6 separate regions of the Homo sapiens genome follow, and all the other regions are linked to region 4. The links are contacts of gene promoters, found by promoter capture Hi-C in blood cells and fetal thymus (Javierre and others, 2016). All regions are on one chromosome and are shown on one strand. The core of a region is centred on a gene start or on the middle of the fragment in contact, and the rest is flanking DNA. Distances in the headings are between cores, read along the strand shown.

Evidence for each region. The method cuts DNA at HindIII sites, captures the fragments that hold promoters and counts their contacts. A CHiCAGO score of 5 or more calls a contact.
Region 1: a contact is called between a fragment that was not itself captured here and the fragment with the promoter of RPL26L1 in region 4, in 3 of 17 cell types (total CD8 T cells, non-activated CD4 T cells and naive CD4 T cells). The highest score is 7.0, in total CD8 T cells.
Region 2: the fragment with the promoter of BNIP1 here is called in contact with the fragment with the promoter of RPL26L1 in region 4 in 8 of 17 cell types (naive CD4 T cells, non-activated CD4 T cells, total CD8 T cells and 5 more); the score reaches 11.0 in naive CD4 T cells.
Region 3: a fragment that was not itself captured here is called in contact with the fragment with the promoter of RPL26L1 in region 4 in 1 of 17 cell types (naive CD4 T cells); the score reaches 5.1 in naive CD4 T cells.
Region 5: a contact is called between a fragment that was not itself captured here and the fragment with the promoter of RPL26L1 in region 4, in 1 of 17 cell types (non-activated CD4 T cells). The highest score is 5.3, in non-activated CD4 T cells.
Region 6: a contact is called between a fragment that was not itself captured here and the fragment with the promoter of RPL26L1 in region 4, in 17 of 17 cell types (neutrophils, megakaryocytes, fetal thymus and 14 more). The highest score is 35.0, in neutrophils.

The regions. Positions count from the first base shown.
Region 1 is chr5:173,121,894-173,125,966 of GRCh38, reverse strand. It overlaps CREBRF (CREB3 regulatory factor), which reads right to left. Exons shown (of 9, transcript NM_153607.3): 8 at 2,765-2,887. Among named protein-coding and RNA genes, the nearest start is that of BNIP1, 21 kb to the left of the region's middle. The HindIII fragment of the contact is 963 bases long and covers 1,832-2,794 here.
Region 2 is chr5:173,141,962-173,145,932 of GRCh38, reverse strand. It overlaps BNIP1 (BCL2 interacting protein 1), which reads right to left and starts at 1,402. Exons shown (of 6, transcript NM_001205.3): 1 at 1,304-1,402. The coding sequence starts at 1,387. RefSeq lists enhancers at 670-739, 681-1,209. The HindIII fragment of the contact is 7,780 bases long and covers 1-3,971 here.
Region 3 is chr5:173,186,007-173,189,958 of GRCh38, reverse strand. No RefSeq gene overlaps it. Among named protein-coding and RNA genes, the nearest start is that of BNIP1, 43 kb to the right of the region's middle. RefSeq lists a silencer at 2,197-2,316. The HindIII fragment of the contact is 1,672 bases long and covers 1,432-3,103 here.
Region 4 is chr5:172,958,084-172,961,701 of GRCh38, reverse strand. RPL26L1 (ribosomal protein L26 like 1) reads right to left here and starts at 2,278. Exons shown (of 4, transcript NM_016093.4): 1 at 2,234-2,278; 2 at 1,661-1,837. The coding sequence starts at 1,828. RPL26L1-AS1 (RPL26L1 antisense RNA 1) reads left to right here and starts at 2,334. Exons shown (of 4, transcript NR_026682.1): 1 at 2,334-2,412; 2 at 3,445-3,563. The HindIII fragment of the contact is 11,810 bases long and covers 1-3,618 here.
Region 5 is chr5:173,158,556-173,162,656 of GRCh38, reverse strand. BNIP1 (BCL2 interacting protein 1) reads right to left here. Exons shown (of 6, transcript NM_001205.3): 4 at 3,812-3,913; 5 at 2,606-2,724. Among named protein-coding and RNA genes, the nearest start is that of BNIP1, 16 kb to the right of the region's middle. The HindIII fragment of the contact is 1,609 bases long and covers 974-2,582 here.
Region 6 is chr5:172,716,302-172,720,103 of GRCh38, reverse strand. No RefSeq gene overlaps it. Among named protein-coding and RNA genes, the nearest start is that of DUSP1, 53 kb to the left of the region's middle. The HindIII fragment of the contact is 5,498 bases long and covers 1-3,802 here.

The DNA of each region.
Region 1 (4,073 bases), core at 1,064-3,563, 160 kb before region 4:
ACCTCACATGATCCTCCTGCCTCAGCCTTCCAAGTGACTGGGATTACAGGAAAAAGCCACCAAACCTGGCGTGCCATGTTTTTTTGTTTTGTTTTGTTTTTTTGAAAAGGAGTCTCGCTCTGTCGCCCAGGCGGGAGCGCAGTGGCACAATCTTGGCTCACTGTAACCTCTGCCTCCTGGGTTCAAGCAATTCTCCTGCCTCAGCCTCCCAAGTAGCTGGGACTACCGGCGCGTGCCACCACACCCAGCTTTTTTTTTGTATTTTTAGTAGAGACGGGGTTTCACCATGTTAGCCAGGATGATCTCGATCTCCTGACCTCGTGATCTGCCTGCCTCGGCCTCCCAAAGTGCTGGGATTACAGGCGTGAGCCACCGTGCCCGGATGCCATGTTTTTAAATGTTAACTGAAAAGCGGAGACTCTGTGAAAAAAGAAAAGCTATTCTGAACCAAACCTTCTTTTAAAAGTTCAGAGGAACTAATTTCACACATATATGAACAACAGAGAAGTATCAAGGTCAGAATCCCACAACTTTTTCTAAGAAAAAAGAGAATAAAAGACATTAAAGAAAATGGCACGATACATGAAAGAACATAAATCAGAAATAGAATAACTAAGAAATAAGGTGACAGAATTCAGAAAATAATTAGAAATACAGGGGAAAATTCCTGAAAGTAAAAGGAACCTAAGATCAGCAAGTAATGACAGCAAATAATGCTTTAAGAGAAACAGAAGGTAAAAAGGAGAAATAATGTTAAAAATGAAGAGATAAAAATGATTCAAGAAAAAGTGACACAAGGCAGGAAGATCATTTGAAGTCAGGAGTTCGAGACCAGCCTGGCCAACATGGTGAAACCCCACCTCTACTAAAAAATACAAAAATTAGCCAGGTGTGGTGGTGGGTGCCTGTAATCCCAGCTACTCAGGAGGCTGAGGCAGGAGAATCACCTGAACCTGGGAGGTGGAGGCTGCAGTGAGCTAAGATTGTGCCACTGCACTACTGCCTGGGTGACAGAGCAAAACACTGTCTCAAAAAAAAAAAAAAAAAGAAGAAGAAGAAAGAAGAAGAAGGAAGAAAGAAGAAGAAAAGAGAAAAGAAAGACAGACGAATACTAAAGATGGGCCAAAAAGAGCCAATCTATAGATAATAAGAGTCCCTACAGAAGAAAAGCAAAGCAAGGGAACAGATCAAACACTAAAAACATTTGAAAGTACATATTGAAAGAACACAGTATAAACATAAAAATGTCAACTAAAAATGACCAACTCTAAGATATAACTTAGCAAAATCACTGGTATTTAAAGAAAAAATCCTTTTGGCACCTAAGCAAAAACAGCAAAGTACTTATAAGGAAAAAATAATTAGTCAATATTGGCTTTTCTTTTTTCTTTTTTTTTTTTTTTTTTTGAGACAGAGTTTTGCTCTGTCACCCAGGCTAGAGTGCAGTGGTCTAATCTTGGCTCACTGTAACCTCCACCCCTCCTGCATTCAAGCGATTCTCCTGCCTCAGCCTCCCAAGTACCTGGGATTACAGGCACCTGCCACCACGCCCAGCTAATTTTTGTATGTTTAGTAGAGACAGGGTTTTACCATGTTGGCCAGGCTGGTCTCGAACTCCTGACCTCAAGTGATCTGCCCGCCTTGGCCTCCCAAAGTGTTGGGATTACAGGCATGAGCCACCAAGCCCAGCCAGTATTAGCTTTTCTATAGCAACACTTTATGCCAAAAGAAAATGGAGACTCATATTCAAGATACTCAAGGAAAGAAAATACGAGTTGAGGATTTTATACCTGGTAAAACTGACTTTCAAGTGTAAAGGAGTACATAAGCTTACCAAACATATAGATGTTTATATTAAAAAATAAAAAGGTAAAAATAACTTTTTCTTGTAATGTTAAATTTCCCCCTGTAGCTAATAAAGGAAGAATAAAAATGCTTTTAAAAATAAAAGGAAAGAAAAGAAAGAAATGCTATGAAAGAATACATAAAAAATTAAAATAGCATCAACCCATTTGAAGAAAAAGTCAAGCACAGAATTAATCCATATGGAAGCAGGAGGTAAGTGATTGCTGAGGAAAATACTGGCGATTAGGGTCTACTCTTCACCTGATTGTTTTCAATATAAATATACTTTTGTTCAAGAAAAACATTTGACCTTTTATTGTGTATATTTAATTTTGGGGGTTTTCGTGGGTCATATAACGCTGGATGCCTTGGATGCTACTGTCTGTCAGTGACTTTCTCCTACAGCAGCTGAGCTGATTCTCATGTCTATGTCTATACTAGCTAGCTCTCTCTTCCCTGTCAGCTCTCAGTTGGCCTGACGTCTAGATCCCTGCCCTCTGATCCTCCCCACATTGTGCAATCTGTTCAGGGATGGGAAACCAGAGAGCCAAGTTTGTGGGAATCCTGTGAAATGCATTACTGAGTAAAACAAGTAAGAATCTCTACACTAAAGTGCAAACTGCAGGCTTGACAGCTCTGGGACCTTTTGTCCTCCATGAAAGGTTAAAGTTGCTAGAAGTTTGTTTTTCTTAAATGTTAAAATAGTTTCATGATTAAGTCTAAATTACAAGTTGTGGTCACCTGCAACACATGTTTATGAACACTAAATCTCAAAAGATAAAACTACTCATAAAGGAGAGTAATTACAATGAGAGCACTTGAGTTTTTCCTTAAACTAAAAGAACTTTTAATATCCCCTTAAATCATACATCTTACACATATTATTAATTGTTATGAATTTATCTCGCATTCTTCTTACCGAGAGTATCTTTAATGAGGATTTCAAGCTTCTGCCCCATGTTGGGTCCTCTCTCATCTCTTGGATTCTGTACCCGGTTTACAATCTCTTGCTTGATGGAGTTGATTACAAACAATAAATTATCTGTAAGACAGAACAAAACACTTGGAATATGTCACTACCATGAAAGACTTTCCTTTTAATTATGTAATAACAGATAATTAAGAAATGGACTGGATTAAGAAAATGTGGCACATATACACCATGGAATACTATGCAGCCATAAAAAATGATGAGTTCATGTCCTTTGTAGGGACATGGATGAAATTGGAAATCATCATTCTCAGTAAACTATCGCAAGGACAAAAAACCAAACACCGCATGTTCTCACTCATAGATGGGAATTGAACAATGAGAACACATGGACACAGGAAGGGGAACATCACACTCTGGGGACTGTTGTGGGGTGGGGGGAGGGGGGAGGGATAGCATTAGGAGATATACCTAATGCTAAATGACGAGTTAATGGGTGCAGCACACCAGCATGGCACATGTATACATATGTAACTAACTGGCACATTGTGCACATGTACCCTAAAACTTAAAGTATAATAATAATAATAATAATAATAATAATAATAATAATAATAATAAAAGAAATAATAGATGACACCAACAAATAAAAAAAATTCTATGCTCAAAAAAAAAAAGAAATGGAGAATGTGTAAGAAAGCATTAAGCAGTAATGATTATAAGCAGCTCCTATACAAAGAAACTGATTTCAAATGATGTGGCACTTGTTTTTTAAAAATATCTCAAGATTAGCCAGGTGCAGTGGCTCACGCCTATAATCCCAACACTTTGGGAGACCAAGGCAGGTGGACTGCATGAGGTCAGGAGTTCGAGACCAGCCTGGCCAAACGGTGAAACCCTGTGTCTAATAAAACCACGAAAATTAGCCAGGTGTGGTGGCATGTGCCTATAGTCACAGCTATTCCAGAGGCTGAGGCAGGAGAATTACCTGAACCCAGGAGGTGGAGGTTGCAGTGAACCAAGATCTTGCCACTGCACTCCAGCCTGGGCTAACAGAGCAAGACTCCCTCTCAAAAAACAACAACAACAACAGCAGCAAACAACAACAACAACAACAAAACCCTCAAGATTACTGGGTATGCACTTTTGATAACACACTGTAGCCAGGTGTGGTGGTGTGCACCTGCAGTCCCAGCTACTTGGGAGGCTGAGGCAGGGGAATGGCTTTAGCCCAGGAGTTGCAGGCAGTTGCACTAGGATGGTGACTGTGAATAGCCGCTGTGCTCCAGCCTAGGTA
Region 2 (3,971 bases), core at 153-2,652, 190 kb before region 4:
GTTTTAAATATCTGCATCAAATTTCACTTTTTCTCTGGCTTATTCATTTAATCACACTTCTTTGCACCGTATTTGTTTATTCTGCATCTAATTTGGTTTATTCTGCATCTGGTTTATCTGGGGAGCCCTATTTTCCTGCACTTTTTGCCACACCTTGTTACAAACTCTGAGTCTACATCTAATGTTTAGTGACTTTGTTGAAAATGATTATTTTTAAAAACCAAGGTTTAGGCCGGGCGCGGTGGCTCACGCCTGTAATCCCAGCAATTTGGGAGGCCGAGGCGGGCGGATCACGAGGTCAGGAGATCGAGACCATCCTGGCTAACACGGTGAAACCCCGTCTCTACTAAGCAAAACACAAAAATTAGCCGGGCGTGGTGGCGGGTGCCTGTAGTCCCAGCTACTCAGGAGGCTGAGGCAGGAGAATGGCGGGAACCCGGGAGGCGGAGCTTGCCGCGAGTCGAGATCGCGCCACTGCACTCCAGCCTGGGCGACAGAGCGAGACTCCGTCTCAAAAAAACAAAAACAAACAAGCAAAAACAAGGTTTAAAACTCGGTTTCTTTTTGCTGAACTCATGGAACCGTGTCTACACTCCCAATTCTTGCCTAAGTCCACTCGTTTATTTTACCTCTACCCTTAAATGGCTTAAGGCGAAACACTTCATTTCCTATCTGTTCAAACGGGGTAACACTCTAAGGTGTTATTCCTAGGTTGACTTTCACAGTCCAGGTCCCAGTTTTGCCACTGACCCAGGTATGCCTTCTAACCTAGGCCTTGGCGCCGTACTCGATTTCCTCAAGCATAAAATCACAACTACGGTCCAGGTTACATTCGTTTCACCCGGTGCCTCCCGTGCCAGGTGGCCTTGGATGCCAGGAGAGCTGGCCAGCAGGGGGCGGGGCTAGCTGCCTCCCGGACGCTACCAGAGGATGCTGAAGCAGCGTCAGAGGGCGGGGCCAAGCAGGGTGACAGGTAGGTTGTGAGGTAGTCAGGGGCGGGGCGACGACCAGGGCTGCAGGTGGAAGGGGCAAAGCCGAGCCCCGAAGCAGTAGCTGAGTCAGGGGCGGAGAACAGTGGGGTGCTCTGGGGATGGGAGATCCGGCGGCACCCGGAAAAAGGATCAAGGCCAGCAGTCACCGGGACACAACCAAATGGGGACCGGGGGGGTAGCCGACCATGGGGCGGAGCCTGTGGTCTGGGAAACCAAGTGGGGAAAGTTCGGGAGTGACACTGCCAAGCTCACAGACCAGCAGAGCTTGGGTTAGGGCTGCTGGAGCCCGGCAGGGGTCCCGGGATCAGTACCTGAATAAGCGCCTTCACCTCCAGGTCAAATTTGACAATCTCTTGGTTACAGATCCGGACGTGGACGTCTTGGGGAGCCGCCATGTTGGGGACGCCGGCTACGGGCAGCGGCAGGACCCAAGTTCAAACGCGTTTTCGCACCACCTTCTTTCCCTCCCCACCCAGTCTCGGGGCAGCGCCCCCTAGAGACCGGCGAAAATGGCAAGCGAGGGTCACTGCGCAGAGTTGGGACTTTCCCTGACACGTGTAGGGAAATCAGCCTCTCCTCTTGGTATGGCCCTAATAACATGGAGAGGAAGGGAAGAGGGAATATCAAGAACGCTTCACAGTGGTCTCTTTCCATCTTCCTTCTGTCAGGCATTCTAATAACTATATATTTTTTACATAGAAAAAAAAAGACTGGAAGAAAAGTATCAATTGAGATGTCTCTGGAAAGTACCAGTAATAATTTTTTGTTTCTTCAAACTTTCTTATATTTTTAATATTTTCTACAGTGAGTATAAATTGTGGAGTAAAAGAGGAAATGATAAACGTCATATATTTTTTAAAGTATGGAGTTCAAGGCAGGTCGGTAGAGTACCTCCTATCACTCCAACACATGATCTAAGGGATCTTTGTAAAACACGAAATTGATCAAGTCACCTACCTGTATGCAGCCCTTCTATGGCTTCTCGTGTTTCCCTTTTGTATACAACTGGATTTATTAAATCTACCTTGCTAAGGTAGTTTTGATGGAAATGTCAGAGCAAACCCTCAACAAATGGTGGCTCTTTTATTTTTGTTAGTAAATAATCCAAGTTTCTTAGCTGGTCCTCAAGGCCATCAGCCACCCCGGCCATCAGCCACCGCACCCTGCGCCCTTCCTGGATTGCTCAAGCTCCTTCTGGATGTGTAGCCTTAGAATGTGGTGTTCCCTCTCCCTAGAAAGCGTTTCCCCCACTCGACCCCACTCCATCTGCATTTGTTCGGGTCACTTCAGCAAGCATAGATTGTGAGGACCTAAAGGCTTAGGACTTGAATGTTCATCTCTCTCTCTTTTTTTTTTTTTTTTTTTGTGGCGGAGTCTCGCTCTGTTGCCCAGGCTGGAGTGCAATGGCACAATCTTGGCTCACTGCAAACTCTACCTCCCAGGTTCAAGCAATTCTCCTGCCTCAGCCTCCTGAGTAGCTGGGATTACAGGTGCGTGCCACCATGCCCAGCTAATTTTTGTATTTTTCATAGACACGGGGTTCACCATATTGGTCAGGTTGGTCTCGAACTGACCTCGTGATCCACCCGCCTCGGCCTCCCAAAGTGCTGGGATTACAGGCGTGAGCCACTGTGCCCGACCATGTTCATCTCTCTTAATCCTCACAACCACCCTTGAAATTGTACTACACTATTATCACAGATCAGGAGTAGGGCTTAGAGTAAATTAAAACAAAAAACAATCAACCCTGTTGCAAGATTACCTATCTTGAAAGTGGCAAAGCCTAGGCCGGGCACGGTGGCTCATGCCTGTAATCCCAGCACTTTGGGAGGCCGAGGCGGGTGGATCACGAGGTCAAGAGATCGAGATCATCCTGGCTAACACGGTGAAACCCCGTCTCTACTAAAAATATAAAAATTAGCCGGGCGTGGTGGCGGACGCCTGTAGTCCCCGCTACTTGGGAGGCTGAGGCAGGAGAATGATGTGAACCCAGGAGGTGGAGCTTGCAGTGAGCCGAGATCGCCCCACTGTACTACTCCAGCCTGGGCGACAGAGCAAGACTCCATCTCAAAAAAAAAAAAAAAAAAAGAAAAAAGAAAGAAAGAAAGTGGCACAGCCTCTACTGAAAGCCATCTTTTCCCCAAAAAATCAATATGGTCCCCACCTGTTGTAAGCGGGGCTATGTGCTTGTCTGTGTCCCTACAGCCCTCTACACACCCTCTCGTAAGGTATTCATCACCCCACTGCACCTAATAGAGAGGCAGTGTATCACAGGCTTGGCATCTGCCTGGGCTCAAATCCTGTCCACCACACACTTCGCATGCCTGTGCCTCTGTCTCCTCGGAAGCTAACTGGTGATAATCAATTGCGCCTACTTCACAGGTTGGAGAATTAAATGAGAAAATACATGAAAAGCACCAAGCACAGTGTGCTAATGTGGCATATAGTAAGATCTCAATGCCCGTTAGCTGCTGTTATTCTACTACTAGCCCACATTTTGGGAGCACTTCCTATGTGCCAGGAACTTTGTACTAAGCGCTTCATGTGTGTCTCGCTTAACTCTTACAACAACTCTGTGAGGTAAAAACGGGGCAGAGAGGAATAATGACTTGCCCAGAGCAAATGGAGTTGCTAGGTCAAAGGATATATGCATTTAAAAATTCTGACATATTACCAAATTGCTCTTCATAGGGATTATGTCAATCCATACTCCCTCCAGCAACATGGCATAAATGCCTGTTTCCCGTGGCCTTGTCAACAGGATAGGTTAACAAACATTGGAAGTTTTGCCAATCTGATTAGGTAGAAATGCCTTCTTTAGTTTATGCTTTTCTGATCATGAAGGAGGCTGAGAAACTCTACCTATGCTTCAGAGCTATTTGCATTTATTCTATTGTCTGCTCATTGTTCTATTGGGTTGTTGGTTTTTTTCATATCCGTTTCCAGGAACTCTATATATTAGGAGGATTAGTCCTTAGA
Region 3 (3,952 bases), core at 1,018-3,517, 230 kb before region 4:
GATTGTGATTGCCGAGGGATGGGGTGGTTGAGGGGGGAATTGAGGGATTAAAGGGTTTCATCTGGAGGCGATGAAAATGTTCTAAAATTGACTGTGGTGATCGTTATCCAACTCTGTGAAAATACTAAAAGCCACAGCATTGTACATGATAAATGGGTAAATCATATGTGAGTATATACATCAATAAAGCTGTTTCTCAAACAAGAATGTTATAGAGATGGTCTCTGATGGTATGTAACCACTTGAGATTGGCTTTTCTCACTCAGCATCATTCCGTCATAGTCCCTCTCAGCAGTTGCCCAGAGCAGTAGGTGGACCCTCCGCATTGCTCAGTAGTATTCCAGTGTACAGACATCCCAGAGTGTGTTTAACCATTCACCTGCTGGATATTTGAGTTGTGTCCCTTTTTTTTTGGCTATTAAAGCTGCTGTGAACATTTGTGTACAGATGTTTGTATGGACATACATTTTCATTTTGCCAAGATGAATACCGAAGTGAATGTTTCACTTTAAGTGTCTCTGTTATCCAGCACACCTCTGCTAAGAAATGACTATCTGCATCTGGGAGCAGTGGTTCATGCCTGTAATCCTAGCACCTTGGGAAGCTGAGGTGGGAAGATCGCTTGAGGCCAGGAGTTTGAGACCAGCCTGGGTAACATAGTTAGATCCTATCTCTACAAAAAATAAAAATGAAAAAATTAGCCAGTCATGGAAGTGTATGCCTGTGGTCCCAGCTACTCAGGAGGCTGAGGTAGGAGGATCGGTCGAGCCCAGGAGGTAAAGGCTGCATTGAGCTATAAGTGCACCACTGCACTCCAGCCTGGGATGGCAGAGAGATTCTGTCTCTATAAAATAAAAATAAAAGAAGTTACTCTCTGCAAACGCTTTAAATTTTGTGTTTTAAGGAACCATGTAGTTAGTCAATTTTCTAAATGGAAATCAGGCCAGGTATGGTGGCTCACGTCTGTAATCCCAGCACTTTGGGAAGCCGAGGCAGGTGGATCACCTGAGGTCAGGAGTTCGAGAACAGCCTGGCCAACATGGCAAAACCCCATCTCTACTACAAATTCAAAAATTAGCTGGACATGGTGACACATGTCTGTAGTCCCAGCTACTCAGGAGGCCAAGGTTGGAGGATCGCTTGAGCCCAGGAAAGTGAAGGCTGCAGGGACCGTGATCATGCCACTGCATTCCAGCGTGAGCAACAGAGCAAGACTCTGTCTCTAAAAAAAAGAAAAAAAATTACCACATTTTTAGATTATATAATTCTGATTCAAAGGTAAAATACAAAGAGGGGAAAATATATTTAACATAAAATTTGAATAAAATATTTTCCAAAATCTTAAGGAAGACTTACTTCCATAAAAATAATTTTTATGTCAGGCTTCAGGCTCAGTGGGCACCCGTGAGTCCTGATTTAATGAGACAAGCTTCAAATTCTAGGTTTTTTTTAAATGATTCTTCATCATTGATTGATTGATTGATTGATTGATTGATTGATTGATTTTTAAGAGACATGGTCTCATTCTGTTGCCCAGGCTGGAGTGCAATGGTGCAACCATGGCTCCCTGCAGCTTTGACCTCTGGCCCCAAACAATCCTCCCGCTTTGGCCTCCCAAAGTGCTGGAATTACAGGCATCAGCCACTGTGACCAGTTTCCTCTTCTTTCTGTTAAATGACATATCATCCCTTGAATGCAAGAGTTTCAGATTCTTAGTAATCATCATTGCCAAGAAATTTTGCTTTTACAAGTAAGTGACTTTTAAAAAGGTTTAAAAATTGTGTTTTTCTACCTTAAAATTTTTACAATGGTCAAAACTACACATAAAGGATCACCCTTTCTTTCCTTGGCAATTATGATATAGGAACTTCTTAGGATTTCTAATCCAGTCCAACTTTCTTTTTTTTCCTTTTTGAGACAGAGTCTCACTCTGTCGCCCAGGCTGGAGTGCGGTGGTGCAATCTCGGCTCACTGCAACCCCTGCCTCCCAGATTCAAGAGATTCTTGTGCCTCAGCCTCCCGAGTAGCTGGAGTTATAGGCATGCACCATCACTCCCGGGTAATTTTTTTTTTTTTTTTTGTATTTTTAGTAGAGACAGGATTTCATTATGTTGACCAGGCTGGTCTTGAACTCCTGACCTCAAGTCATCTGCCTGCCTTGGTCTCCCAAAGTGCTGGAATTATAGGCGTGAGCCAGTCCGATTTTTTCATACTGAGTATGTCACAATAATGCTGACACTCTAACTTGTAGAGCACACATGATTGACTGCAATGGTTGCCTGCAGGTGGCACAGTTACCCCTGTACCCCTACAGTCACCCAAACAGAAGCATCTGTGTGAAGACAGAGCAGGCAGCCCGGAGCTGGGCCTGCCCAGGCACCTGCCCTCATCCTTCCCTCCAACCCCTAGGGGGCCTCCCTTCAGTCTGTACCCGCTACTCCTGGGCACCTGCAATGCAAGCTCACCAGCCCCTGTGGCTCTTGCCCAAACCAGACAGCATAATGCCTGGCGGCTGGCTACTGTCCTCCACATCCAGGCAGCAAGCAGCTCTTTCTTGATGGCACTCAGGACCCCGCCTAGATCAGGGCATACCACCAAGGCTCACGGTGCTCCTGAGGCCGCTGGGGCACCACAGGGTGCTTCTCAGGTCCTGTCACTCAACTGGGCCTCCCCAAAGTGGGCTCACAGCCCAGGGGCTCCAGTTGCCCCAGGCTCTGCTAGGCTGCCCAGAGGACTCAAGGTGTGGATATCTCAGGCACACCTGAGTGTTGAGCTCAGCACACGTGTATGCTGGGCACGGCATGAGTGTAAGGAAGCGCTGGCATACAGAATAAAATCCCCTGGCTAGGAAGCAAGCTACTGCTGACTCCACCGAAGCCCCTGCACGCCCCTCCCAGTACCATCTCCCCTCGCCCCTGCAGAGGCAGACACCATCCTGACTTTGGTGTCTATTCTTTTCATTCGTTTCTTTCTATTTTACCACATGCGTATATATCCATTAAAATATGTAATTGTTTTTCATGTTTAAAACTTTATGCAAGGAATATTATTCAGTGTTAAAAAGGAAGGAAATTCTGACCTATGCTATAACATGAGTGAAGCTTGAGGACATCAGGCTAGGTGAAATAAGCCAGTCACAAAAAGATAAATACAGTATGATTCCACTTATCGGAGCCGAGTAGTCAAAATCATAGAGACAGGAAGTGAAATGCTGGTTGTCAGGGCCTGGGGGAAGGGGAGAGTGGGGAGTTGTATAATGGGGACAGAGCTTCACTTTCACAAGATAAACAGTTCTGAGGCCGGGTGCAGTGGCTCACGCCTGTAATCACAGCACTTTGGGAGGCCGAGGCAGGCAGATCACCTGAGGTCAGGAGTTTGAGACCAGCCTGGCCAACATGGCAAAACCCTGTCTCTACTACAAATATAAAAATAAAAAATAAAACTAACTGGGCATGGTGGTAGGCACCTGTAGTCCCAGCTACTTGGGAGGCTGAGGCAGGAGAATCGCTTAGAACCTGCGAGGCAGAGGTTGCAGTGAGCCAAGATCGTGCCACCACACGCCAGCCTGGGCAACAAGAGCGAAACTCTGTCTCAAAAGAAAAAAAGAGTTCTGGAGCTGGATGGTGCTGATGGTTGCGTAACATCATGAGTGTATTTAATACCACTGAAATAAATACACTTACAAATGGTTAAGATAGTCAATTGTATGTTATATGTATTTTACCACAACCAAAAAATGTAACTTTACACAAATAGTAGTCAACTATGAGAATCGTTCTGCGGCTGCTTTTTTTGATTGACATCGTGAGATTGATCCATGTTGATACACACAGATGCCAAACATTCCTTTTCCTGCTGCATTGTAGTCCACTGAAGAAATACACTCCAATTTCTTCATCCTTTAGATGTGCATTTCAGTTGTTTCAAATATTCGCTATTACAGACAATGCAT
Region 4 (3,618 bases), core at 1,029-3,528:
GAAAGAGATGCTAGATGTGTCCACTGGATTCAGTCACGAAGGGATTATTAGTGATCTACGTCAAAGTAGGTTCTATAATGTAGTGGGGACAGGGAATAGACTGAAGAGAATCCAAGAGTGAATGGGAGATGAGGAAGTGTAGACAGCTCTCTTGAGGAGGTTGGTTATGAATAGAGAACAAAGTGTAGTAGCTGGAAGGAAATGTGGGCTAGGGAAGTGAATCCAAATTTTCCAGCTCTCTTTGAAAATCCAAGAATCTAACAATGGGCCTGCATTTCCCCCAGGCATCAATGGGCTAAAGGTAGATGATTATATCTTATATGTGAGGCTTGAGCTTTCCAGTTTGCCATTTTCTATCCCTACCTATCCCCTATAAGTATTTGCAATTCCCCCATTCTAGAACATGTCTGATGGGAAGGATCCAGGAGAGAGGGGGTTGAAACTGCTGATCATACCTCTGAACTACTCTTTCCACTCTTCCTGTCACACTTCCGGCTTAACTCCACATTTTTTCCTCCTTAACATATCCCCAAACCTTCAAAGAGTCCCAGTGTCTCAGATGATACACCAAGCCTCATCACCTTATGTCATTTCATTCTCTAAGACAATAGCTCTTAACTGAGTGAGGGAAGAGTTGATTTTGCCCCCCAGGGAGCATTTGGCAATATCTGGAAATATTTTTGCTTGTCACAACTGTGAAGGGAGGGAGTGCCACTGGCATCTAGTGGGGAGAGGCCAGGGACGCTGCTAAACATTCTACAATGCACAGGACAGCCCCCACCCCCCACCCCCCACAACAATTATCCAGTCCAACATATCAATAGAGCTGAGGCTAGGAAACCCTGCTCTAAAACGTGATCTCCATGAGAACAAGGGCCTCGTCAATCTTGTCCTAGAACAATCTCTGGTAAGTGCTCCATAAATATTCCTTTGAGGAATGAATCTAGCCCCTGCTTATTTCACTCATATCCAACTCCCTTCCCTCCTCTCATGCATTCTAAGCTCCAATCACAGAGAACAGAGGGCTTGTACGTTCTCACATGGGCCAGTCTTTTAGAAATTATGAAAGAGTGACTCGCTGCATCTTTACCAGTTCTCCTGCCAAATCCAATGCTATCACATGGCCAGCTCCCACAAATCTCTGTCCATCAATCCCACTACACCCAAATACACTAAAACACTACTCTCACTGCAGCACCTTCCCCTACAGTCTGGTTCAACAAGCCACCCTGGGCAACAACACTTGGCAAACTAGCAGCCAGAAGGTTAAATCAAAAGTATTTTTGGTGGGGCACGGTGGCTCACACTTGTAATCCCAGTGCTTTGGGAGGCTGAGGTGGGAGGATCACTTGAGGCCAGGAGTTCAGAGACCAGCCTGGGCAACATAGCAAGACCCTATCTCTACAAAACAAACAAAAAAGCAGGTTTTTGCTTGGTTGACATACTGTTTTATTAAATTTTACTATTACTATTAAATAATTAAATGCTCTAAAGCAACGCAGGCACTCTCTGGTGGCTCTGAACCCTATCTCTGGCCTAACACATCTGAAGGGTCACACTACTTTCCAGAGTCCTGAGGCATGTGAGTCTGTGACTGCTCCACGCATGACGTTCTTAGGCAACGGTGTCCGAGCGCCACTAGCGCCGGAGGGAGACGTACCTGGACCTCGTCGTCCTTGCGGATGGGCATGGAGCGGACATTGTACTTCTGCCGCAGCTCCTTGGAGAGCGGGGATGACATGATCTTCCTGCGCACGTGTGAGGGGGCATTGAAGTGACGTTTGCGGTTTTTACTGCGGTCCGAGGTAACGAAGGGATTGAACTTCATGGTGACCCTCTACAAAGGGCGGAGAGAGACGGAATGAAGGGGCGCTCAGTGGGTTACAGGGGCCTGTTCTCGACCCAAGACACTCCTCATCCCCCAACAAAGGCTCTACAGGGGAGGTAGCCTCTGAAAAGGCAACTGAGGGAGGACAGAGAGATGCGACTAGTCTGACTATCACATAAAGTGAGGCGTGTGTGGAGGTCGCATGCCCGTCTAAAGGGGTCGTGGGGGAGAGGGTAGCACTGGGACCTTGAGGCTGAGGAAGGAATGCTAGGGTTAGGCAGGAATGGGTGGTCGGGAGGTCACTCAAAGAGAGCTGTGGGGTGACATGTGTTCCCGCGACACATAGGGCAGGGTCTCACGGGGCGGTAGAGTTCACTGTCCGAGAAAACTCCAGCCTCCACTCACCCGGCTACTAGCTGCCTCAGACCCTGAGTGCGCAGGGCCGGAAGTGAGTTTCCGTGCCGCGCAAGCGCAGAAAGACATCGAAGCCCCATTTCCGTAGGAGCGAAGTCGAATGGCGCCCCCAGCGGCTTGGGGTGGGATCTCAGTGCCTCATTCCTGGCGGCCCCGGGAGGGCGATGCCAGTGAGTACAAGGGCCTGCTTGTGTAGGGCCTGCGGTAGAGGCTTACTGGTGTTCTTTTTTTTTTTTTTGAGACGGAGTCTCGCTCTGTCGCCCAGACTGGAGTGCAGTGGCGCGAGCTCGGCTCACTGCAAGCTCCGCCTCCCGGGTTCACGCCATTCTCCTGCCTCAGCCTCCCGAGTAGCTGGGACTACAGGCGCCCCCCACCACGCCCGGCTAATTTTTTGTATTTTTAGTAGAGACGGGGTTTCACCCTGTTAGCCAGGATGGTCTCGATTTCCTGACCTCGTGATCCGCCCGCCTCGGCCTTCCAAAGTGCTGGGATTACAGGCGTGAGCCGCCGCGCCCTCCTACCTCTACTTTTTTCTATCTCTGGGACTAAACGGCGGCCGGCGGCGTGCCTGCGGGTTTGTGGCCGCCGCCCCGCCCCTCTCTCCTAGACCCCGCCCCTCTCATCCAGTCCCCGCCCACTCCGGCCGCTCCGCGCCCACCTGTGGCCCTCTTGGCCCTTCTGCCCGTGCCTGGCCCCGCCGGGTCGCTCCCGAGCTCCGCGTTTCGTTCGCCGACCCCTGGAAGACTGCCTGGAGGCCCGGGCGCCACCCAACCACTGGCTAGGCCGACACTTTGCGCGGACCCTGGGTGTAAAAGGTCCCCGGGTCTCTGGTCCCGACGGAGCTGTGAGGGAGATCAACCACGCCCCCTCCGTGGGCACCGTGGCGGCAGGGAAGGAAAAGGGCTCTGGGTCTCGACTCTCTTCGGGTTAAGAACCGACGGGGTTTATTCTATGCAAGGTGTTATTAACTCCAACTCTCCCTTTCGTTCATTCATTCCATATATGTTGAACGACAACTTAGTGCCAAATGCCGGCATGCTGAAACTCAGAGAGGGAAGATGTCTTGCAAGTACAGCAGCCACACCCAGGCAGGTCCCGTGCTCTCTCTTAGTTTATCAGTGTTCCCTGACATGTAGTGGTGACATTGTTAAACACCTGCGTTTACTAATACTAGATTTTTTTTTTTTTTTTTTTTGAGATAGAGTTTCGCTCTTGTTCCCTGGGCTGCAGTGCAGTGGCACCATCTCGGCTCACCGCAACCTCCGCCTCCCAAGTTCAAGCGATTCTCCTGCCTCAGCCTCCCCAGTATCTGGGATTACAGGTATGCGCCACCACGCCCGGCTAATTTTGTATTTTTAGTAGAGACGGGGTTTCTC
Region 5 (4,101 bases), core at 529-3,028, 200 kb before region 4:
ACACAATGTTTCTTTTCTTTTTTTTTTTGAGATGCAGTCTCACTCTGTCACCCAGGCTGGAGTGCAGTGGCGTGATCTTGGCTCATCACAACCTCCACCTCCCAGGTTCAAATGATTCTCCTGCCTCAGCCTCCCCAGTAGCTGGGACTACAGGCATGCACCACCACGCCCAGCTAATTTTCTTTTTGTATTTTTAGTAGAGACAGGGTTTCAACATGTTGGTCAGGCTGGTCTCGAACTCCTGACCTCAAGTGATCTGCCCGCCTTGGCCTCCCAAAGTGCTGGGATTACCGGCATGAGCCACCGCGCCTGGCCAAAATCCACACGATGTTTCAAAGACTTAATCTAAGAAAAAGGAATGTAAAATATCTCAATAGTTTTTAATATTAGTTTTACATTGAAATTATAATATTTTACATAATGGGTTAAATAAACATCTTACTAAAATTAATTTCTTATGTTTCTTTTTACTTTTTAACATGTGCCTACTGGAAAATTTAAAGTTACATACGTGGCTGCTGTTGCGTTTCTATGGCAGTCCTGGGCTAGAGTTTTCTTATCCTTCTCTATGCTGTATGTGTTACCTTTTTAAAAATTAAAAGCTAATAAGTAAATAGGATAAATTATCAGAGGAAACACAGCAGCGTTTTGAAAATGACAGATAAAAGGAGAAAAACAAACACTCACAGAACAGGAATCCCTCTCCGCCTGCTTTCTCCACGCCTGCCTGCTGCGATTTCAAAACCCTGAGATCTTGCTAAGTAAAAATCTAATAGGCCTTTCTTTTTAAACTTTATTATTACGGAGAATTTTGAACCATCACAGAGCAGACAGCATAATATCATGAAATGCCATGTGTCCACCACCCATAACCAAGAACCACCAACCTCTGAAATCCTGCTCCCCCTCCCCCCAACTGCAACTACTCCTGCAATTGTGGAGCAAATTCCAGACACCATATTCCTAATAAGCTTTTTGTTTTAAAATTATGGTCCTAGTAGGCTTTTAAATCAAGCTGAATTTGTGAGGCATAAGGAAAGGGTTAAGAACTGTATTCTTCTCTTTTCTTCAATAGTTATCGCTTGTACAAAATGGGCCCCAAGAACACCGGGACCCTCTCAACACCCCAGAAGCCACCAGCATTTGTGTTTCCTTCCCACTGTTAGCGGGGGGTATGCTGTCGCCACACCAGAGCATAAAAGCCCTGGGCTCAGAGGCCAAGTTGTCGCCTTGCTCCCTCTCTCTCCAAGGCCTCTCCCACAGCACACGCTGAGAGGAAGCCCCTGGCTGGTTCCGAGCCCAGATGTTCAGGTAAGCTGCAAACTCAAGGAGTGACCTTGGGGTCACCTGCTTGCTTTCCTTTTGCTTCTGCCTATTTGGTGCACTGAAAAAACAGTGGTCCAAAATTATAATTTCTAGGGGTGATCATGGTATTGTAGTTATGGGGTTGCTTCTGCTTTTTCCCCAAAGAGTCCCTTATCTTTTAGAGAGATGTACTGAGATATTTATGGATGATGTCTGGGATTTGCTTCAAAATAATCCAGATGGGGGATGGGCTGAGGGTAGAACTGAAACGAGACTGGCTGGGGTAATGGACTCAGGGCTCAGGGGATTCAGGATACCATGCTTTCTCCTTTTGTCCACGTGTGCAATTTTCCAAAAGCGTTTCAAGGAGTAAACGCCCTTTTTCTGTTGTCTTATACTGAAGGACCCTGGAGAGGGCTGATACTCTTCTCCATCACAGAGGAGACACTCTGGGAAAACTATTGGAGGAAACCAGATGGTCTCAAGCAGTCTCTCCTGTAGCCTCTGATTCACATCTTTTAAAAGGAACTCATAGGAAAAATAACGTTGGGGAGTATAATTGTAAACTGAGGTCCTAGCAGTCCTACCAGCAGCTGATTCGCCAAACATCTCTTGGAGCAACCATTCCCAAACTTGCCTGGCCATATGGGTCCCCAGAGCCCTCACTGAAAATCAGACTCCAGGCCCCTCACCCAGCCCTGCCGACACCCTCTCTAGGAGAGGGGCTGGGACCTCTGCCTTTCACATGAACACATGGGAATGCTCCCCCTGAGGAAACATCGATGGGGGTGTGGGGTCTTCTAGTAAACAGAAATACGGGCCGGGCGTGGCATCTCACGCCTATAATCCCAGCACTTTGGGAGGCTGAGGCAGGCGGATCACCTGAGGTTGGGAGTTCAAGACCAGCCTGACCAACATGGAGAAACCCCGTCTCTACTAAAAATACAAAATTAGCCGGGTGTGGTGGTGCAGGCCGGTAATCCCAGCTACTTGGGAGGCTAAGGCAGGAGAATCGCTTGAAACCAGGAGGCAGAGGTTGCGGTGAGCTGAGATCGCACCATTGCACTCCAACCTGGGCAACAAGAGCGAAACTCCATCTCAAAAAAAAAAAAGAGAAATAGGAGCAGCACATCCCACACTGGATAAGACCATGGTGTCAAGTCATCTCATGAGGGAGAAGCCACCCAAGTCAGTGAACATCGTGTGGGCTGTGGTGGAGGAGCCCAGAGTGGAGGTGCCAGGGCAAGGGCCCTAGAGCAGCGTCTCTGGGAGAAGCTTCCTACTCCAGGCCCAGCTTTACCTAGAGACTGCATGGCCTCCTCGCTCTGCTGGACCTGCTGGGCCATCATCCTGCTGATCCCCATGAGGCTCTCAGTGATGGTACTGGATGTCTGGGCCAGGCTCTCTTTGGTGGTTTTCCTAAAAGTTCAGAGGAAGAGAAAGGGGAGGAATGTCAACAAAAGCCTCCCTGCAAGAAGGCCCCACATCCAAATGAGATCTCATGTTTTACCTATCCAATTAGTATACATATTTTAAATGATCACATTCAATGCTGGAAAGGGTGTGCTGAGACCCACGCCCCTGTGGACTGCTAGTAGGAACATAAACCAGTGCTGCCTTCTGTAAAGCAATTTGCCAATTGAAGAGCCTTGGTAATGTTCATTCCTTTGACTCAATCATCTCATCCCTGGAAATCCCTCCAAAGGAAACATCCAAAATGTGGATAAAGCCTTATGTTCTAAGACATGCCCTGGTGTATTACTTACACTACTTAAACACTAGAAATGCAAACACACACAGGGAATTGTATTAACATACAATCTACATACTATGTACTGTTAGAATTAGGCTTAAAAAGCTTTTTTTTTTTTTTTAATGAACAACTTTTGTGCTGAAACAGCAGAATATGAAATTTTATGTATGGTACAATTTTGACTTTGTAAGAAATGTAGAAATAAAAATGAGGGAGAGAATATACCAAAATGTTCATGAGTAATAAGATTTGATATTTTCGGCCGGGCATGGTGGCTCACGCCTATAATCCTAGCACTTTGGGAGGCTGGGGTGGGTGGATCACCAGAAGTCAGGAGTTCAAGACCAGCCTGGCCAACGTGGTTAAACCCCGTCTCTACTAAAAATACAAAAAATTAGCTGGGTGCAGTGGCACGCAACTGTAATCCCAGATACTTTGGAGGCTGAGGCAGGAGAATCACTTGAACCCAGGAGGCGGAGGTTGCGGTGAGCCAAGAGGGCACCACTGCACTCCAGCCTGGGCTACAAGAGTGAGACTTCATCTCAGAAAAAAAAAAAAATTCAATATTTTAATTTTGTAATTCATACTTTATTTTACCAATTTACTACAAATAAGTATGCATTTTTTTCAAACTTAAAAAAATTACTTATGTAATTAAATTAAGCACCAAGCTGAAAACAAGAGGGGGTTTCCTACACCTTGCCAATTGTTATCTATTATTATCGGAGCCCAGAAAAATAAAAGAATAGGTACCTTTGCCTTAAGAGATCTCCTCCCTGAAGAAGTTCTGCTTTCTCTAGATTGTCGATTGCAATTTTGCAGGTGAGATTAGCTTTCCTCCATGAGGCCTGATTGCTGGAATTGGAAGGTTCACGTGTGAGTGTGTCCACTCCACCAAGCCATAAGTCAGTTCAATTCACAGCACTTCCCCCCAACAAAGGCACACGGGAGAAGGCCACCAGGCACGGCCTTCAGAGCCCATCCCACCTCCTGCCACTTCCGCCTCCTGGTTCCCCAGCAACTGTTCTTGCTCAGGTCCTGAT
Region 6 (3,802 bases), core at 973-3,472, 240 kb after region 4:
AGTGAAGAAGGTTGGTAAGGTGTCCCTAACAGAGGGCTCAGCCTGTGTAAATGTGTGTGGGCCTTAGAAAGCACATATGGTCTGTTTGTTCAGGAAAACGTAAGCATGTCAGGATGGTGGAGGGCAGGGTGCAGAGAGTGGAAGGTGGAGGCACAAGGTTGGAGAAGTCTGCGGGGCAGGGGATGAAGGAACCAGAAGGCCAAGCCAGTGTCTGGGACAGGATCCCGCACCACTGGGGAGCCACCTAAGGATTCCAAAAAACAGCGTGACACAGTCAGATTGCATTTGGGGAAGGGCACTCAGGGCACTCGAGACATAGCTTGGAGCGGCAGGTCTGAGTCTACACCTGAGGACCCTTGAGTCCGGCCTGACAGTCCCGTACCCCAAGCCTCTGGCCCCTCCAGAACCATTTGACCCCACCAACTCCCACCCAAGCCAACTGTGAGCCATTTTCTGACTGGGTGGTCTTGGACAAGTCACTTCCCCTCTGGAAGCATCTGTTTCTCCATCTGCACCATGAGTAGAGTCCCACTGGCTTCAAGGACCATGGTTGGAAGCTCAGTCATGGCACCACAAGTGAGAGTCCTTCATGCCTATACAGAGCCGTGTTCATGCATGAGGTGGGTGTTTGCGCCCAGTTTCTCAAACTCCCATGGCTCCTGGCTGAGTCAGAGCCTTGACGTGCTTTGCTGCCCTGGTCCCAGCTTCAGGGACTACACCCTCTCCCTGTTCTTTACAAGAGATGCTCCAGGTCACGTCTTGGGGTTTACTCATCATTGCTCTGTGCACATTAGATGTTGCCAGAATTTGCTGATGGCCCATCCCCAGCACTGGCACCTAACCCCTTTTCCCCACCATAGCCCCACACTGGAGGACTTATTTACCTGGGTCACTGCTGCCATCTTTTATTCTGACCTCCTTCCTGTGGGTCAAAAAGCAAACACAGGCTTAGGTCAAGTAGTCTTTCAAACATCCATCCATCCATCCATCCATCCATCCATCCATCCATCCATCCACCCTGTCCAACCATCCATCCATGCATCCATCCTGTCCATCCACCCACCCATGCATCCATGCATCTATTCATCTATCCATCCATCCATCCTATCCAATCCATCCATCCTATCCATCCATCCATCCAATCCATCCATCCATCCATCCTGTCCATCCATCCATCCCTCGTGTCCATCCATCCATTCATCCATCCATGCATCCATCCATCTATTCATCCATTCATCCATCCTATCCATCCATCCAATCCATCCATACATCCATCCATCCATCCATACATACATACATCCATGCATCCATCCATCTGTTCATCCATCCATCCAATCCATCCATCCATCCATCCATCCATCTACCCATCCATCCATCCATCCATACATCCATGCATCCATCCATCTATTCATACATCCATCCTGTCCATCCATCCATCCATCCCATCCATCCATCCATCCATCCATCCACTAATCTTCCTTCCACCCATTCGTCATTCATCCATTTGTCCACCATCATCATCCATCCATTCGACTTCTATCCATCCACCCATCCATTCATCTATCTGTCTTTCCATCCATCCATCCATCCACCTATCTTCACTGAGCCCCTTCTCCATGCACACACTGTGCTCAGCTGTGAGGAGAGGGGGATGAAGATGGGTCTGTGCCTGCTCTCATGAGTGGTGTGCTTGTTCAGAATGGTGTAAGCACATCTGTGTGGTGAAGGGTAGGGTGAAAGGTTAGGGGGGTTGAGGCAGGAGGCTGGGGAGACCCACTGGGGTCAGGGTATAGTCTGGTGGGGGAGATGAATGTACACAAGTAGGTCTGATAACTTTAGATGGTCAGAGTGTCATGAAAGGAGGAAACAGGATCCAGCCATCCAGGGAGAGATGGGGATTCGTGGGAGTGCTGGAGGTGGAATAGAGCAGGATCCCCGAGGGATGTGGAGTGGATTTGCTGACAGGTGGGCTCAGGGGCAAACTGAAGCCAGATTATTTGTGGGGCCCAAGGAAAATGGCGTTCCAGAGGGCTCTGAGGCTTCTGGGCACAGGGGGCCACCTGCCCAAATGGGGAAGACCTGGGTTCAGGTCTCAGGGTTGCCAATCCCCGACTGTGACCTTGGGCAGGTCACCTCCCCTCTTGGATGCCAGTTGCATGACCTCTAGAATCCTCCTGATGGTGACAATGTACCTAAAATAGCATAAAGCAGCCCAGCCCACCGAGGACGTGCCAAATGCATGCCCACTCTCACTGAGCATTCTCTCTTCCTTCTTCCACCAGTGGCCCTGGGAACTCCCAGGGCCCCTGAAAACACTGTTGGCTGCGGTCCCTTCTGCAGTTTCCCCACCTATAAAATGGGACAATGCCAGTGCCTGGCACCTAGTAAGTGCTCAGTAAGCATTAGTGGTGGCTGTGGTTGCTGCAGCAGTTGACCGGCCCTTTAGTCTGTACCTCGCAGACCCGCTTCTGATTCTGGCCACATCTGCCCCCACCCGACTGCTTCCTCTTGTCTCTTCTCCCTGATATGCTGGGCTGCGTGTCCGAGGGTCCTTGCTCCGGCGGCCCCCTCCACACCGGCCCTTCCCTCTGACCACCTCCCGCCTTCTCCTCACCCCAGCTCCTCCGTCCCTCTATCCCACCACCCTGTTGTATTTTCTCCCGATGCTTGCCAGGATCTGAAAGCATCTTTTTTTTTCTTCTTTCTCTTGTTTATTTCTGTGTCCTCACGTAGTTTGGAGGTTCCAGAGGGCACAGCCTTTCAAAGGTCTTCTTCCCTGGGCATCTCCAGTTCATCGTACAGAGCCCAGCACACAGTAGGTGCACAGTGCCTATTTGTAAGAAGGAAGGAAGGAAGAAACGAAGGGAGGGAGGAGGCAGGAGAGACAAAGGGAGGGAGAGAAAGGCAGTGGAGGCCTGTTGGGGAGGGCGGGGTGGCTGGTGGGGAGGAGCCCCAGGTCCGCAGCCCCAGTGGTGGACCTGAGAACATTGTTGGGGTGTTCAGGAAGCATCTGCCCAGGGAATTAACAGAGCTGGAAACCATCCGGGCGTCTAAGTTTGGCTTCTTCCCGATGATGTGAAGACCATGCTTAGCGCTCTCTTGGGAGCCGACAAGGGGGTCTCTAGCGCCACCTTCCGGGCATCCGGGAAATGTCCGTACAGTCCCACCAAGGCCCACCTGCCGCCTCGACATTCATAAATAAACGCCAACAATGACAGCGACAGCAACAACAGCTCCGCTTTATTAAATGGTTACTCTGCGTCAGACAGCGTACCAGGTACTTGAAAGATATGATGTCCTAACCTCCAGACCCCTTGAAATGCGGCTGGTTATTACCCTCATTTATTTACGCAGACAGATGAGGAAACTGAGACTCAGAGAAAAAGAACCGCTCAGCCCAGGTCGCATAACCAGTGAGTGGCAGGTCTGGATTCTAACTCAGGTCTCTCTGGCCCCAAAGTGCAGAGCCCCAAAGGGCTGAGCCGTGCTCTGGAGAAAGGCAGAGAGGGAAAGGGAGGGTGGGCAGGGCTGGGGCTGAGGGCACAGCAGGCTCCCAGGAAGGCCCCTAGCGGTCACTCCCTTGCAGGGACTATGCTGTCCCAAGGCCTTGCTCTGAGCCCTCCTCAGGACCCCTCCCAGCCTCCCTGAGCATGAGCTCCTTCATCCAATGTCACAGTTGGGGGAACTGAGGCGCACAGGGTGGAGACCCTGGAGAGGTCACCTCCCCTCTTGGATGTCAGTTTCATTACCTCTAGAATCTTCCTGATGGTGATAATATACCTAAAATCTCATCGAGCAGCCC